Linked DNA regions of Homo sapiens: regions 2, 3 and 4 are each linked to region 1. Evidence: promoter capture Hi-C in 16 types of primary human blood cells and fetal thymus (Javierre and others, 2016). All regions are on one chromosome and are shown on one strand. Each heading gives the region's core, a stretch centred on a gene start or on the middle of the fragment in contact. The rest is flanking DNA. Distances are from core to core; before and after follow the strand shown. Region 1 holds the start of HACD4 (3-hydroxyacyl-CoA dehydratase 4). Region 2 has its middle 24 kb from the start of MLLT3. Region 3 has its middle 9.2 kb from the start of FOCAD. Region 4 overlaps FOCAD (focadhesin).

What was found. The method cuts DNA at HindIII sites, captures the fragments that hold promoters and counts their contacts. A CHiCAGO score of 5 or more calls a contact.
Region 2: a contact is called between a fragment that was not itself captured here and the fragment with the promoter of HACD4 in region 1, in 1 of 17 cell types (neutrophils). The highest score is 5.4, in neutrophils.
Region 3: a fragment that was not itself captured here is called in contact with the fragment with the promoter of HACD4 in region 1 in 1 of 17 cell types (neutrophils); the score reaches 5.2 in neutrophils.
Region 4: a fragment that was not itself captured here is called in contact with the fragment with the promoter of HACD4 in region 1 in 1 of 17 cell types (neutrophils); the score reaches 6.3 in neutrophils.

Annotation. Positions count from the first base shown.
Region 1 is chr9:21,029,074-21,033,454 of GRCh38, reverse strand. HACD4 (3-hydroxyacyl-CoA dehydratase 4) reads left to right here and starts at 1,815. Exons shown (of 7, transcript NM_001010915.5): 1 at 1,815-1,902; 2 at 4,057-4,160. The coding sequence starts at 1,865. It overlaps LOC105375989 (a long non-coding RNA gene), which reads right to left and starts at 1,813. Exons shown (of 3, transcript XR_007061435.1): 1 at 1,455-1,813; 2 at 804-983; 3 at 1-92. RefSeq lists an enhancer at 1,476-2,036 and a silencer at 1,680-2,039. The HindIII fragment of the contact is 3,612 bases long and covers 1,434-4,381 here.
Region 2 is chr9:20,644,300-20,648,680 of GRCh38, reverse strand. No RefSeq gene overlaps it. Among named protein-coding and RNA genes, the nearest start is that of MLLT3, 24 kb to the right of the region's middle. The HindIII fragment of the contact is 4,029 bases long and covers 270-4,298 here.
Region 3 is chr9:20,672,847-20,677,227 of GRCh38, reverse strand. It overlaps a transcript of FOCAD not described here. Among named protein-coding and RNA genes, the nearest start is that of FOCAD, 9.2 kb to the left of the region's middle. The HindIII fragment of the contact is 1,866 bases long and covers 1,150-3,015 here.
Region 4 is chr9:20,690,947-20,695,327 of GRCh38, reverse strand. All of the region lies in intron 1 of FOCAD (focadhesin), which reads right to left. Among named protein-coding and RNA genes, the nearest start is that of FOCAD-AS1, 8.4 kb to the right of the region's middle. The HindIII fragment of the contact is 5,795 bases long and covers 1-4,381 here.

The DNA of each region.
Region 1 (4,381 bases), core at 566-3,065:
AAGGATCAATTCTTCTGGGCAGGCTTTCCACCTTCTCCCTCCTGCCCCACTGCAGGCCATCTGGGACTTTACTTTCTCTCTTGCTGCTTAACCTGATCAGAGATAGCATTGATAATGGGTTAGCCACCAGTTTACCCTTTAGATCAAATGTTCTGTAAAAGCAAGGACCGTGGGGCATCATCCTGCAAGGTGATACAGGATAGGGATTCGGCGAAAAATTAACATGCTCGCGGACGGAGCAGTGTCAGGAGAGTCAAACTGTAAGGTATTATGGAACAGGAAGATGGTAGGAAATGAAAGAAGCACCTGATCAGAGAAGGCAGGCAGGGAGTTATTAGAAGATTCCATTGAGAGAGAAACAGAAAGAATACAATGTTTAATTATATGCTAAGAGAGAGTTGTCTATGTCCCTAAAGTGCAGTGAAAGCCAATGGAAAGGAGGGGATGACGATGCAAGAAGAGGCGATGGTTAACTACTGATGCAGTGAGTCTGAGAAGGGACTGGTAAACACAAAGTTGGGGTTAACCTCCGACTGAGGGCAGGGTATGAGAGAAGGTGCAGAGAAATGTAGAGGTGAGAGGTAGGCATAGTGAATGGAATGGACTATGAAAAAAGGAAGCCACGGCCTAATGGGAAACAAACAAGAAATCCCACCAACCTTGAAGTTCTGATACTGCCATTTTATCAATTGTGTGACCTGTGCCAAGTGACTTAACATTTTTTTAATGCCTCAACTTCCCTTTTGGTAAAAATGGGGGCGCTAACTTCCAACTCCAAAACCAGGTGCCATTGTCCCACTTACTTGCAAGTGCCTTCTTAGATGTTTCTGTTTTTGTTTTAACGTTTCCCTTTCTGGGCAGAGGAGCTTGAAGATGGGCTGGATCTTATTAGCAAAGCAGGAGGGTGGGTCATCTGTGTACGGAGACAGTGATGTCATAAGCCTGAGAGATCACGAAGGGGTTGTAGCAGTGCTGGGCATAGGCTAGAGAAATTAACACAACGTGAATAAAGATTTGCAGGCACCAGTGAGAACCCAAGGGAGATTAGAGAGCAGGGAGGCCTGATAGAAGAGGAATCAGGCCCCTAGCTGAAAAAGTGTTGGGGAGGTGTGCTACAAACTTCGTTTTATTTTTATTTATTTTTTGAGACAGGATCTCGCTCTGTTACCCAGGCTGGAGTGTAGCCGCGTGATCTTGGCTCATTGCAGCCTCGACCTCCCAGGCTCAAGCGATCCTCCCACCTCAGCCTCTGGAGTAGCTGGGACCACAGGCCCGCGTCACCATGCCCGACTAATTTTTGTACATTTAGTAGAGACGCGTTTTCGCTATGTTGCCCAGGCTGGTCTCGAACTCCTGGGCTCAAAAGATCCTCCCGCCTCGGCCTCCCAAAGTGCTGGGATTATAGGCATTAGCCACTGCGCCCGGCACAAGCTTCGTGTCTGAACCTGGCTCACCGGTGGGCATTGAGCAGAGCCCACCCTGGAATCCACTCATCTCGGGAGGTTTGGGGATGGGCTTCAGCGAGTTCGGAGGCCCCGGAAATCGCCCAGATGCATTAATTTCCAGAAGGCTTGCAAGGGGGTCTCAACACAAAGATTAGGAAGCTGTAACCAGAGTTTGGTAACCCCACCGGGAACGCGAGCCGCCTCCCAGCCTTGCGCCCTGACGCGCTCTAGCAGTGCTGCAGAAACTTCGAGAACTTCGTTTTCATCTCTTCCCCAACGCACGACCTCGGGCTTTTTCTTTTTGTAAACTGCTGAGTGTGGAGAGGCCCCGCCCTTCCGCGCCCAGCCGCGGGGCCGCCCCTGCCTCCTCCCCGGTACTCCTTCCTGGACCGCGCTGGAAGCCCTGGCGGCGGCGGCCCATGGGGCCCTTGGCGCTGCCCGCCTGGCTGCAGCCCAGGTAGGGCGCTCGGCCGAATCCCGAGGGGAGGGGGCGCGGGTGGAGGGCCTGGAGGCGGGAGCTCCCCTCTGCGGCGGGCGGGCGGGCGGCACCCCCCGCCCGCCAGCAAGGCGCAGCGCTACCGTGCCCAGGCACCCCTTGGAGCTCATGCAGGTATTTGCTAACTTACCCCTCTTGACCACCCTAGGAAGCAGGCTCTGTTATTTTCTCCATTTTACAGTTGAATGGGAAGGACAGGCTGCATGGCTACCCCTGCCCTTGTGAGCCCTCTGCCAGTACTTCCCTCCCCCCAGGAGCCTTCTCTTGACTTTCTCAGACGCAGAGTTGCGGGGTGATTTTTAGATGTAACAGCCGTGGAAACACCTATCACACGTATAGATTTCAGGGCCTAGTTCCGGCGGGGAACAGATTCAGTCATATAGCGGTAGGGCCTGGGGGTGTATATGTTTAACCCACAAGCCAGGTAATTCTGATACAAGCTGAAGGAGGATTTCCTCTTCCCAAACCCTTTAGCAGTTCCTGCCTTTATAGGGGAGGATGTCCCCAAATAAAAATCATTCTGCCTCCCAGCTTATTTTCCTTGTTTCTAGGAGGTTTCACATCTTCAAGGAGGAGTAAATCTTGACCACACTGGCAGGGCCACTCCCGTCACTCTTCTGAACTCCCAGGGAACATTTCAAACAGTGCTTTTCCTAACTCCCTCAAACCATCTATCTGTCAATCTTCTCTTAGTCATCTCCCCAGCAACTCACAACACATTGTTAAACCCAGCTTGACTTCCCTCTTCTGGTATGAGCAACTAAACTGCTTTCGATATGTATCTGATGAAGGAAACTATCTACCCTTGCAAAATGTTAATAGGCAGTGGCAAGATGTTAATACTAACCTCAATCACATAATGTGTTCAAAAGTCAGGTGTGTCCAATTACTGAATTACCCAACATTTGGATTACTCCCATCCCTACCCCCCTTCAGAACTAAAACACTGTGTCTCAAGTTCTGCACTTAGCAAGCTGAGCTACTGGAACACATAGTGACATGTCAACCACTCTGCACACATGGATTTTTTGTTGTTGTTGTTGTTTTGTTTTTTATTTTTTATTTATTTTTGAGAACAGAGTTTTGATCTGTCGCCCAGGCTGGAGTGCAGTGGCGCTGTCTCGGTTCACTGCAGCCTCTACCTCCCAGGTTCAAGTGATTGTCCTGCCTCAGCCTCCTGAGCAGCTAGGTAGCTGGGATTACAGGCATACGTTACCACATCCGGCTTTTTTTTTTTTTTTTTTGTAAGTTGCCATGTTGGCCAGGCTGGTCTTGAACTTCTGGCCTCAAGTGATCCAACCCGCCTTGGCCTCCCAAAGTGCTGGGATTACATGCCTGAGCCACCGCGCCCAGCCTGTTTTGTTTTTTTAAAGAATATTCAAAGCCACCTTCGCAGTGGTTTCTTTTATTCCTTGGTGAGCAGCAAGGTTAGAACTTTATCAAAGATGAAAGCAGATTTTGAAAAAGCACTATATTTGGTTTTAAGCAAACTCACTATACAGATGGTCCATGACTCACAATTTTTTAAACTTTGTGATGGTGTGAAAATGATATGTATTCATTAGAAACCGTACTTCAAATTTTGGATTTTAATCTTTCCCCAGGCTAGCGATGTGCAGGTATGATATCCTTTCATGATGCTGGGCCGCGGCATCAGGCCGCAGCTCCCAGTCGGCCGCATGATCAGGAAGGTAAACAACCGGTACTCCACAGTGCACTGTGTTGCCAGATGATTCCACCCAACTGTAAGCTAATGTAGGTGTTCTGAGCAAGTTTAAGGTAGACTAGGCTAAGCTGTGATGTTCTGTAGATCAGTTGTATTACATGCATTTTCAACTTATGATATTTTCAGTTTATGATATTTTCAGCTGATGGGGTGTACCAGGACGTAACTTCATCATAAGTGAAGAAGCATCTGTATTTACTTTAGCGGGTAGTGTAGGTTATGGCTCCCTTCAAAATCTGATATGTACTTGGGGGTAACCAGATAAAAGACTGATATGAAACAGTTTTCTTTTGCTTTCTCAGGTTGGCCAGTACATTAAAGGGCATGTGTACAGTGATGAAAGGATGATTATAAAAGAAGTGTTTAATGGTATTTTCCTGTATTTATAGGTATAGGAAGAATGCGTATCTTTTCATCTATTACTTAATCCAGTTCTGTGGCCACTCTTGGATATTTACAAATATGACAGTCAGATTCTTTTCATTTGGAAAAGGTAAAACTCCGAAACAGTTTTTTTATTTTTAACTTTTAATCCTTGTTTTCACCTCATCCTGCTTATATTAAATTTCTACACACCTCAACCTTCTAATATCCTTCTCTAAAATTTGTATTTTTTAGCAACCATGTTTATTGCAAAACCTTCTTGGGGAAGGGGGAAGGTGGGATAAGTAAGGGAAAGGGATTTGGCTTCCCCCTGAGTTGGCAGTTTGCCTC
Region 2 (4,381 bases), core at 1,035-3,534, 390 kb after region 1:
TTGAGGTAAGTTAGGAGATACAGATCCAAATTTATTTTTCTTATATTTTCTAGATGTCTATTGGTAGTCCTAATAGTATTTTTATATAAATCATTTTTTTGCCACTGATTCAAAAGGCTGATTTTATAATTTACTAAATTCTGTTTCTGAATATTCTCATTTATTCCACTGATTCTTTTTAAGATATAAAAAAGCTAGTTGACCTTCACACTCTAGGCTTTTCCTACATTTTCCTAGATACTATTGCTTGTTATTTTTAAATATAAGCTTTAGAATTTGATTGGCTGAAATAAAAACATCTTGTCTTTTTATTGGATCAATCTGTGTGTGATAATGTCTTCCTGTTCAAGAATATGCTATGTCTTTCCATTTGTTCAAAGTTCTTTTGAGACTTTAGTTGCAGCTTAATGTTTTTGTTTTTTTTTCAAATAGATTTTCTACATTTTCATTGCTTTTGTAAATGGAATCTTTTTGTCCATTATATCTTCTAAACTAACAGTTAATACACGTTAATGAATTGACTATTCATTTCCGTATGCTAATTTTATACTTAGCCAACTTACTGAATTGTCTTATCATCTGTAGTAATTTTTCAGTTATCTCAAGTTTTTCAGAAATGCAATAGTAATATTTACAAATAATTATAATTTTGCCCTCTTCCTTTCCACTTTTTATACTTCTCATTTCTGTCTCCTTTCTTGTGATGGCTACTGTCTCCAAAATAGTGTCAAATAGAGGTGACAGATATTTTCACCTAGCTCCTGATTTTAATGGGACTTCTCCAGATGTTTCCCATTAACATGATGCTGGCTTTGGGGTTGAAATAGATGTATTTTATATACTATGACTATTCATTGTGCATCAAATTAAATTTAAATGACTAATGAAATCACTCAGGATCTCTTAGAGAGAGAGGGTACCTTGTTTGGTCCAAATTGGTAATATATGGCTGTTTATGACTTATCAAATACTTTTTACATGTATCAATTATCTCACTGGATCCCCACCGTAATCCTGAGTTAGATACCCATTCCAGCATTTTTTTCTAATTATTATGCCTTGTTCTGGCTTCTATCAGATCATTAGAAATGAAGTACAAATAATGAGAAAACATTCTTCCTTTGAAAGCACAACAAAGTGTTCAAGAATAGCAGAGATTTAAAAATAAACTATTTTATAGGACACAGTTTCTAGAGTATTAACAATATGTTCAGTGTCTCCTGTGGCCAAGAGATAGTTCAACCCCCCATTTTTCCTTGTAGCTAAATCAGTGAGTTCCTTATTACTAGAGGCTGAGCCTAAACACGCAAAGTGAGAGCTGGCCTGGAGGAAGAGATTTGAGAATCATCCATGGGCAGGTTATAATTGAAGCCATAGGATTAGATGAGATAATCCAGAATAATGTACTCTAGAAGGAGAAGATAAATAAATCAAAGATGGAAGCCTGGATAAAACCAATAACAAGGGTGAGTAAAAGAAAAAAGGTTCTAAAAAAGGGAATAAAAATGAACAGCAGGAGTTAAAGAGAGGAAAAAACACAAGAAAATTCATTACTAAAACAAAAGGAGAAGGGAATTTCAAGAAGTTGTCAACAGCATCAAAGTCTTCAGAGACTAAAATAATTCCAAGAGTTGAAAAGTATTCATTGTAATTAGCAAAAAGGTGATCACAGGCAAATTTGACAGCAACAATGTCAGTGGATGCCGTGGCTATTGTCTGCCCGGAATGCCTTTCTCTTCTACATCTGGCAACAAATCCTGCTTCTCTGTCCACAGGAGCAGGCACATGATTCAGGTTGTGCTAATTATAGCATCACATCTTCCTGGCTGTAGAGATAGGCAGCATTCAATAGTAGGCATATGGCTGGGCACAGTGGCTCATGCCTGTAATCCCAGCCTTTAAGAGGCTGAAGTGGATGAATAACTTGAGGTCAGGAGTTCGAGATCAGCCTGACCAACATGGTAAAACCCCTTCTCTACTAAAAATACAAAAAATTTAGCTGGGTGTGATGGCGTGCACCTGTGGTCCCGGCTACTTGGGAGGCCAAGGCAGGAGAATCATTTGAACCTGGGAACTGGAGGTTGCAGTGAGCCGAGATCACACCACTGCACTCCAGCCTTGGAGACATAGTGAGACTCTGTCTCATTAAAAAAAAAAAAAAAAAAAAAAAAAGAAGGCGTATGACCCAAGCTAGACCAATCTGAACATTTGCATGGAATTTTTCTGTCTGCAACTAATGAGAAAACATCTTTTTTTCCTTCTGAATGATGGAAATATCAGAATGAAGTAAATATACAGAGATATGTAGAGATGAAACATGAGCAATGGAGAGAGAGAGCAGGCGCATGCACTCCTGTGAAAGAGAAATATCTGCCCCACCTTTTTTTGAATCTTAATTCTATTCACTTAATTCTATGAGCTTCCTTAATGTCCTTCAAATAATTTCCGCTACTTCCCCCCTCTTTTTTTTAGTAACAAAAGAATTAAGATTAATAGATAGAAGTCAGATTGTAATTGGCTTAGAAATGAATGATATAAATACTTCAGAATAACCATAACAAGAAATGGACAGGAACTATATAAGTAAAACTACAAAATTTTACTTAAGGTCATAAAAGAAGACTTGAATAAATGGGAAGTCCTCACACGTTCCTGGGTAGCAATGACTATTATAAAGATGTCAGTTCTTCTCAAATTAATTTATAGGTTTAATGCAACTCCAATCAAAATCCAAATAGGATACCTTTTGGAGCTTGAAACGGTGATTCTACAGTTGATTAGCTTAAAAAAAAATAGAAAAGAGTGAGGAAATTAAAAAAAAAAAAAGGAAAATTGGTGAGGGGAAGAGTGAACAGCTATTAAGCATTCTCCCAGCTAAAAGGATGCAATTGGAGTGGCTCTGTAGCTCTCTCTCCTTGTCAAAGAGATCCTTGCCTCTGGGCACAGGGTCCATGGATATTCTCCCTTTTTCTTAAAGTAACTTAAATAAGTTTTTCTTTCTTTTAACCAAAAGAGTCCTAATTCAAGAACTTGCCCCATCAGACATTAAAACAGCACATAAAACACAGTATTACTAGTGTAAATGTTTATGAGCATATCTTTGAAACAAAATAAATAGCCAGAAATATATACTATCTCTTACTTATAAAACTGATGTAAATAATAAAGTTGACATCACATTGCAATATGTAAAGGAAAAATCATTCAATACGTTGGTTAACTGTGAAAACTTAAGTTAAATTGTCAACTTGCAATATATACTAAAATAAATTCCAGATATTAAATGTGAAAAGTGTTCACTGTAAGACAAACCAATGACTACTAAAACATGTGCCTGAAATATGGCAAAAGTTTGCCAAAGTGCAGGTTAAAAAACTAGGAGTTTATTTAGGGAACTATTTACTTGTTCTTGAGCTGAAGGAATAATTGTCTAAGTATAAAATCAATGGCCTAAACCACAAAGGAATCAACATCGGATATTTGACTACATGAAAAATTCGAGTCTACACAACAGAAGCCATCAAAACATGAAAGGTAAATTATAAAGTAGAAAAATATTTCAATATATCTGACAAAAAGCATGTAGTAGTTTAAATCAATAATGAAAACACTGAAACTTCAATGGAAAAAAGTACAATGTGCAGACAAATCTCAGAAGCAGAAATATAAATACCAATAAATATGTGAAACAATTCACTTTTACTGCTATAATACAAAAAGTTAACAATTTCAATGATATATCATTTTATTCTACTAGAAAAGTTATGAAAATACAAAATTTAAGGCTGGTGAGGTTGTTTCAAAAATAAGCATGATCGTACACTCCTATTAAGAGTCTAAACCAGTATGTATTTTTTAGAAAGCAATTTGGCAACATATCAAGAACTTTGTAAAAGATCCATATTCTTTGACCCAGATTCCCATTCTAGAACCTTTAAAGGCATAAAATGTATCCCCTTTTCTCAGAAGTGTACATATGCAAGAAGCATAAAGCTGACAGCCAGAGGGAAAGAAGGCAGTAGGAAGAAAGAGGTGGCATTAAGATTCTGGTTGTAGTCACTGAAGGCCCTAAAACGGCCCTGGTTCTTCAGAATCTGTGAGCTATCTCAGAACCTTTCCAATAAATCCTCCCCTATGATCCCTTAGTCTCTGTCCCCTGCACAAAAAGATAATTGACTAACATAATGACCCTGGCCTGAAATGTGTATTCTTTCCTTTTGCTAGATTAACCTACTGTATAATTTTGGGTAAAAGGTGCTGATTGCTTTGATTCATTGCAGTTGGTTCTAGTCCAAGCTTAATTAGTTTGGAATTAAACTGGATCCAATACTAGCACCTTTTATAGTGTCTATTGAAATACAATATTAGAGCGATGAAATTC
Region 3 (4,381 bases), core at 833-3,332, 360 kb after region 1:
TGTTTTAGTTGACTTTATCACATGGGGTGAGGTAAGGGTCCAATTTCATTCTCCTACATGTGAATATCCAGTTTTCCCAACACCATCTAATAAAGAGTCGATCCTTGTGTGTTATTGTTTAAGATCAGTTGACCATAGATACATAGATTTATTCGTGGGCTCTCTGCTCTGTTCCATTGGCCTATCTGTATATTTTTATGCCAGTACCATACTGTTTTGATTAGTGTAGCATTGTCATGTACTTTGAAATCAAGAAGTATGATACCTCCAGCTTTGTTCTTCTTGTTCAAGATTGCTTTGGCTATTCAGGGCCTTTTGTGGTTTGTTATAAATTTTATGTTGTTTTTTTCTATTTCTTAAATAGTATTATCAAAATTTTTTAGGGATTGTATTGAATCTGTAGATCATGTTGTGTGGTATGAACATTGTAATGGTATTCTTCCAATCCATGAACAGAGGATGTCTTTCCATTTATCTGTGTCTTCTTTAATAAATGGATTTTGATGTTTGAAAATTTCCTTTCCACTTGCATTGAAATCCAAAAATGCTATTGGAACTTTAGTTTGATTTTGGAAAATATATCTCCTGCAAATGTTTGTGGGAATGGAGCTCTTGCTTCTTTTTAAAACTTTGACAGCACAGGAACTATATTAAGCAGGTTGACATTACTTGTGATTGAAACAGCATTAGTTTTTGTTAAAATGACTTTACCATAATGTGAGTTTTGGACATATGCTCTGTTTGCCTTGTAATTTTATATTGAGAAACATGATGAAGTCTGCCACACAAGCTAATTTTCAAAGCCACTCATGTTCAATAACAGTAATTGAGGGAGGTTCTTCTCATTCCAGAAGTCTCAGGCCTGAGTTTTAAAAATTGCAACAAAACTTTACCGCTGCTAAGCCATAAAACTGCTGTGTGATAGGGCAAATCGGGATATTCAGCTTCTATTTTTGACAAAAGTTTGCAGAATTGATCATTAAGTCCACCAGAGTAAATGAAGTTCACCATTGGAACTTCTGGGTCAGAAACACACAATAGATTCAAACACTTTCTGCAAATTACCTGCTGATGAACAGCATAGTAAGTAACAATGGGCTTTAAGTCTCTCACATTTTCACAAGCTTTATTAATTTGTCCAACTAAGCTTTTTCTTCTCCATACACATTTTTATCACCATAAGTTATAAGGCATCTTAACAGATTCTACTTCAGGTTTTATTAATGTTTTCCCAACATCTTTGAAAATATATTTGCCCATAGTTGTTCTACGCAGACGATTCATAGAGGCTAATTCTTCAGTGACTTTAAACTCAGCGTTGACTCCTTGAATAAGCAACTGAGCACTATTGGTAATACCTGTCAACTCATCAAGAGCCAAGGAAAACCACTCAAAATCATCTACCTTGTTTTGTACATGACTATTGATGTTGCTCCCAGTGTCTTCAACTCTTCAAACAACAGATCTCACTGAAAGGTTAATCGTCTGAAACAAGTTTATTTTCTTGGGAAAAAATTTTTTCAGCTGCTGTGATCAAACATGATTTAATTAACTCATCATCAGTAAACAGCTTTCTTTGCTTGGCCAACAAAGAAGCCACTCAGAAAATTACTTTGGTTTCAACTCTTTTGTTATTTTTGTGAAGAAATTCTGCTGTGATGACGTTTTCCATTGTAAATTTTCACATTTTCTGACCATTGTCTCCCTGTGAGTTGGGAATATTGTGATGAATCTGGGAATATTGATGTATATTATCTTTTAGTACAGGTATAGTATCACTGCACAATAAACACATACTTTGTCATCCAATTTGATAACAAAATAATCCACAATCCACTGTGCCTTAAAAGCATGACACAAAAAGTTCACTTTTCTCTTCTTTTCTTGTTTTGACATGATGGCTATGCTCTGGTATATATTTTTATGTAAAAACTATTCTTAGCTTGAAAACATTCTAAAATTAGGTGATCATCCAGTTTTGACCCACAGACTATAGTTTGCCTACCCCTAACCTAAGCCAACCATGGCTCTCTTCTTCCCCTTTGCCAGATACTTTCCCAGACTTCCTTACAGCAAGTCATGGCCATGTGGTTCAGGGCTGGCCTATGAGACTTAGAGAACTAGATTTATAGAAGAAAAACTTTTTTAACCAGAAAAAGAGGGTCTTACAAGGAAGAAGTCAATTGCCCTTGACTGTGGCTCTTGCATTTTTGCAGAATATGTACCACAGAAGTAATTTGTTCTCTTGCTGCTTCCATAGGTATAGTTCTGCCCCAACTCTACCCCATCTCACCCTGGATTCTGAGACAACCTCTTATCCCAGGAACTTATTAAGTAGGTATTGGGGGGAAATTTTGAAGGAATCTATTCAATCAGGCTTCTTAAATTTCAGTCCTTATAACCATGGGGCAGAAGAAAAGCACAGCTATCATTTATTCAACAAATATTACTGAGTAAATAGTATCAGCTCAACGCCATGCTAAACACTGATTATACAGAGCAAAGTCAAATAAAATCATCATCGTCCTCCAGACATTCAAAGAACACATGGCCTACTTTCTCCAACTTAGCAGGCAAAGCTGACCAGTATCTTTTGATGCAACTTCATGAGAGTTGTTCCAAAGTGGCACCACAGCCTGGACTTCAAAGATGTGCTCTCAGCAAGGGTTGCTAGGGGTCTTAAAAAATTCTCTTCTGCTTACATTCTCTGTCAAGAATTAGGCCTTTGGAACATCTTTATAATATCCAGGCCTAATTGTCCAGTGGTGCGCTGACAGATGTTTAATTAGCAGCTCTTGGTGGAAAGAGATAGGGGAGAAGCTGATGTGTAGTGTTTGCCAACTTCCATGGTATAAATACAGTACTCCCACATGGTCAATTTCCATATGGAGTTGGGAAGAGGTGTACACTTACACATAATTGTATAATATTTCCACCATAGAGACAATAGCATAAATAACCTCAATAGCATAAATAATAATAAAATGTAGAAAAATAATTCAGAAGTAATAAGCTTAGAACATCTAATATATTTATTTCTAATACTAATATAAGATATTTAATTGTAAGTTGATATAATTTGCTTTTTAATAAGGACTGTGTTTAACAAGTAGTTTGCAAAGTTCCTGAAATTTAACAATTGGCTCTTGTGACAAACTGACTGCAACATACCACTACAGATAGACCCAGTGCCTCGCTTCTTATCCAAACTGGTAGCATAAGGTCTTGATTTAGCCTTTTTACCTTAAAGAACAATTGACAAATTTTCAACTAATTAAGAGTAAAGAGGAATGTAGAAAAACTTTTACAACTTGATAATTAAAAAACAATCTAATTAAAGAATTTTATTAATTAGGAGTCGGGCATGGTGGCTCACGCCTGTAATCCAAGCACTTGGAGAGGCCCAGGTGGGCAGATCGCTTGAGCTCAGGGGTTCAAGACCAGCCTCGGCAACATGGTGAGACACCACGTGTGGCACGCACGTGTAGTCCCAGCTACCTGGGAGGCTGAGGTGGGAGGACTGCTTGAGCCTGGGAGGCAGAGGTTGCAATGAGCCGAGATCACGCCATCACGCCACTGCACTCCAGCCTAGGTGACAGAGTGAGACCCTGTCTCAAAAAAATAATAATAATTAATTAAGTATAATTAAATAAAAATGTATAGATATTTCTTCAAAGTAGATATACAAGTAGCTAGTAAATAAATGAAAAGATGCTCAATATCATAACCCCCAGGAGAATGCAAATCAAAGCCACAGTTAGATACCACTACCAGGATAGTTATAATAAAAAAGACAATAAATGATGCCGATGCAGAGAAATTAGAACCCTTACACATTGTCGATGGAAATGTAAAAATGGTGCACTGTTATGGAAAAACAGTTCAACAGTTCCTCAAAGTGTTAAGCATAGAGTTCCGTATGACCTAGCAATTCCAATCCTATGTATATATCCTAGAGAAATTAAAACATAAACCCACATAAAAGCTTGTATTAAAATGTTCATAGCAGCATTATTTGTAATAGTCAAAAAATAGAAAAAACCAAGGGTAAAAACAAACAAGAGTAACTAGGCCTCCTCTTCCATTTCTGTCTATACTGGCCAAAATCTTCCCCAAAATACAATTTATCCCCCTACCATTCTGGAGTGGTTTTCAGACATTCATTGCCACTGCATACTCCAAGCAATGGGAATAAAATCTGAGTATCTTTACTGCTGGTACTGCTAAAAATGTCCATTGGCTTCCAAAATGAATACAAATTGATGCCTAATTATCAGTTTACTTCAATAAGTTATGTATTAGAAACTATTAGTTTATTTAAATAAAAGCAACTTGTAAATAGATTTAAATCCATGGAACTGAAGTTTGGTGAGTCCTGTTG
Region 4 (4,381 bases), core at 1,391-3,890, 340 kb after region 1:
GGATGATCCCACTTGAATCCATTGATTCATCTTAGCATCACTAAAAGTAAGAATACCACACATTGTATCCTCATGGGTGATGGAATAGGACATACACAGGCTTCTGTAAAAATACTCTTACCTAAAAAAAAATTTGCCACTAATATACACAACTCTCTATATTTAATTACCAATTTACAAGAAATATATGAGATACAGGAACAAGGTACCTCTTCCAGGACAATACCACTTGCAGAGCAATAGATCAAGTCCAGAATCTGGGACACTTTACAGGACAAAGTACTCGGTTTCTCCAACAAATCAATGACATGGGAAAAAAGGAGTGGAGGGATTGTACAGAATAAGTGACTAAACAGACATAGTAACCAAATTATATTATATTTGGGAAACTTACATGATTCTGATTTCAAAAAACCAATTCTACTAAGACAATCTTGGCCCAACTGAGAAATTCTGAAATATGGACTGTATTGGATAATATTTAGGAATTGGTATTAATTTTGTTAGGGTTGTTAATGAATGGCCTAGTAATAGTACTTTAAGAAGTCCTTATTAATTAAAGACAATTACTAGGGAAGAAAAAATGTTAGAGAGAAAAACAAGATTGACAAAATGTTGATGTTGTTGAAATTAAGTTCATTTACTATATTCCCTATTAATCTGTGTATGTTTTAGTAAGACATTTTTAAAAATAAAAGAAAATTTTAAAAAAGTAACTAGAGATTGCAAGATTGCAATGTGAACTGTTAAAAAAAATTATTACCATTTTCAACTGCTAATCTGTGTGGATGGAAATTTCCTTGATGGTCTGCAACAAAACCAAAATACAAAATCACAATACAAAAATAAATTGGAGGCTGAGACATATAGAGAGTATCATTTTTATTCATAATCATTCATTTCAATATTACACTCCTTATAATAGCTTCATGGTTCAGATTGACTTTATAATAAGAGTATGCTATAAATTCAAATGTAAAATAGCTTTATTTTGAATAATAAAACCTTTATTTTGAATAATAAAACACTTCTCTTATCTGAAGTTCTCAGTAAGATATGTGGAGGTGGAGAGAGTCTAAGACCTTAGAAAAGGTTTGAAAATTTTCTGCCCTAGACTATTCCTTTCACCTGTTTCAGCTTTGCTTTGTACAAAAAATGTTATGATTTACAACTCAAAGTGAAGAGGTTGCTATTAAGTATCAAGAAAGGTATTGCATATAGTTAAGAGAACATGATAATCTTCTTGCAAAGAATAAATTAGAGTCTGGATGTGGAAGAATACTTGGTCTAGAAGACCTCTTTTAAAAAATGGATTGCAGCTGGGCACGGTGGCTCACACCTGCAATCCCAGCACTTTGAGAGGCCAAGGCAGGAAGATCACTTGAAGTCAAGAGTTCGAGACTGGCCTGGCCAACATGGTGAAGTGCCATCTGTACTAAAAATACAGAAATTAACCAGGCGTGGAAGCACGCACCTGTAATCCCATCTACTTGGGAGGCTGAGGCACGAGAATCACTTGAACCCAGGAGGCAGAGGTTGCAGTGAGCCAAGATTGTGCCACTGCACTTCAGCCTGGGCAACAGAGCAAGATTCCATCTAAATAAATAAATAAATAAATAAATAGTGATTGCAAAAGTACTTGCAAAGGAGACCAGGAATTTCCTCAGATAATGGTCCAGAGCTTTTCCATAAAGAATGGAAGAGATACCTAATCCTGAAAAAGGTTGCAGTACCTTTCATTCCTCCATTTAAGAAATATTTATGAGATGCCTACCTTGTATCAGACACTATACTAAGCACTGGGAAAACAGAGAAAAATCCCTGCCCTTATAGATTACATTCCTAGTAGAGGCAAGACAAGAATAAGCAAAATAGTAAATTACATAGCATTTCTGAAGATAAGTGCTATGGATAAAAGTAAACCAGAGTGGAGGATAGACAGTATTAGAGAGAGAGGTTTCTATTTTTAAAAGGATGGTCAGGGAAAGGCTGAGGAAGTACTCGAGTAGCCTGAAGGGGAGTAAAAGAGCAGTTTCGTCATCTCAGAAAAGAAGACTCTAGGCGGAAAGAGTAGCAGTGCCAATGCCATGGTGAAAGCATGCCTCAGATGTCTGAAGAACAGCAGAGGCTCATTTGAGCAGATTAAGTAAGAGAGAGAGAGTGGCTGTAAATGGAGTTGGAGAGGCAACAAATGGGTCAGATCATGGCAAGCCTCACAGGACAATCCCAAGACTGCCTTTTACTTTGGGTGGCAACGGGAAGCCACTGGAGAGTTTGGGGCAGAGAAGAGATCTAACTCACGTTTTTATAAAATCACTCTGGCTGCTGTTCTGACAATACTGTAAGGGGAAAGATAGAAGCAATCCATTAGAAGGCCAGGACAGTTTGCAAAAAATGGCCTCCAATTGCTCCCAATCTCTGTATACAAACTGCTTTACAAAGTGACTTTGCTGCACCCCCTCAGAAAAAAAAGTAGGCTAATTTTCTCTCCCCTTCATCTGGCTTGACCTGGTGACCTGCTCTCACCAACAGCAGGGAAAGTGAAGCTGTAGAAGTTCTAAGTCCCGGCCTCAAAAGGCCACATAGTTTCCTCTTGTTATCTTGCTTCCATTACACCACTACGTAAAGAAACATAAACATGAGATAGTTTACTGACCACGTAGAGCAGAGATAAGCCATCTCAGCTGAGGCCTCCAAACCTACCAGTGCCGATCACTACATGAGTGAGCACGGGCAAGACCAGCAAAAGAGCTGCCCCACATCTACCCCAAGTCCAACCTAAGCTGCCAACCACAGAATCACAAACTAATACATAACTGTTGGTTTAAGCCACAAAATGTTGGGAGTAGGTAACAATTGATAACTAATATAGAGGCTACTGCAAGATCCGGACATAAACAACGGGGGCTTAGACTAGGGTGATAGCAGTGGGTAGTGACAAGTACTTGGATTCTAAATACATTGTGAAGGTATAGCCAACACACTTTCCAAAGTAACAGTATATATATATAGATTGTGAGATAAAGAAGAGTCAAGGATGATACTCAGGTTTTTAGCCTATCTCATAAAAAGGATGGAGTTTCTGTTAACTGAAATAGGAAAGATTATAGGTAAAAAAGGAAATTTCAGAGTTTAGTTTGAAATATATATTAGTCATCCAAACAGAAAATGCTGAGTAGTCACTGGATATACGGAGTCAGGAGTTCAAGGGAAGGCGAGGCTGAAAATATAAATTTGGAAGCTAGTAGGGTATTACTAGTATTTAAAGCTAATACTTAGGCCAGGTGCCGTGGCTCACACCTGTAATCCCAGCACTTTGGGAGGCCAAGGCGGGTGGATCATTTTTCGAGATCAGCCTGGCCAACGTCTCTACTAAAAATAAAAAAATTAGCCTGGTGTGGTAGTGCGCACCTGTAGTCCCGGCTACTCAAGAGGCTGAAGCAGGAGAATCGCTTGAACCCGGGAGGCGGAGGTTGCAGTGAGCCGAGATCGTGCCAGTGCACTCCAGCCTGGGTGACAGAGGGAGACTCCATCTCAAAAAATAAATTGGCCGGGCTTGGTGGCTCATGCCTATAATCCCAGCACTTTGGGAGGCCGAAGTGGGCAGATCACGAGGTTAGGAAATCGAGACCATCCTGGCTAACATGGTGAAACCCGTCTCTACTAAAAATACAAAAAATTATCTGGGCATGGTGGCGGGCACCTGTAGTCCCAGCTACTCAGGAGGCTGAGGCAGGAGAATGGCGTGAACCCGGGAGGTGCGGCTTGCAGTGAGCCGAGATGACGCCACTGCACTCTAGCCTGGGGGACAGAGCGAGACTCCATCTCAAAAAATAATAATAAAATAAAATTAATTAATTAATAAATAATAATAATGCTAATATTTAAAGGCTGAATGATATGATCCAGAAGTATAAGGTCTAATGACTGACCCCTGAAGCACTCCAATGTTAACAGCACTCTTATCAGGGAGATAAGGAAGAACCAGTAAAGGAGTCTAAAAAGGGACAATGACGTAGGAGGAAAACCAGGAATTGTGGTATTTTTGCTAATAAGGGAAGAAAGTGCTTTAAGAAGCAGAGATTGGGCCAGCACTATGGCTCACACCTGTAATCCCAGCACTTTGGGAGGCCAAGGCAGGTGGATCACTTGAGGTCAGGAGTTCAAGACCAGTCTGGCCAACGTGGTGAAACCCCATCTCTACTAAAAATACAAAAATTAGCTGGGTGTGGTGGCACATGCCGGTAATCCCAGCTACTCAGGAGACTAAGGCAGAAGTATCACTTGAACCCAAGAGATGAAGGTTGCAGTGAGCCGAGGTCACGCCACTGCACTCCAGCCTGGTCGACAGAGTGAGACTCTGTCTCAAAAATAAAAATAA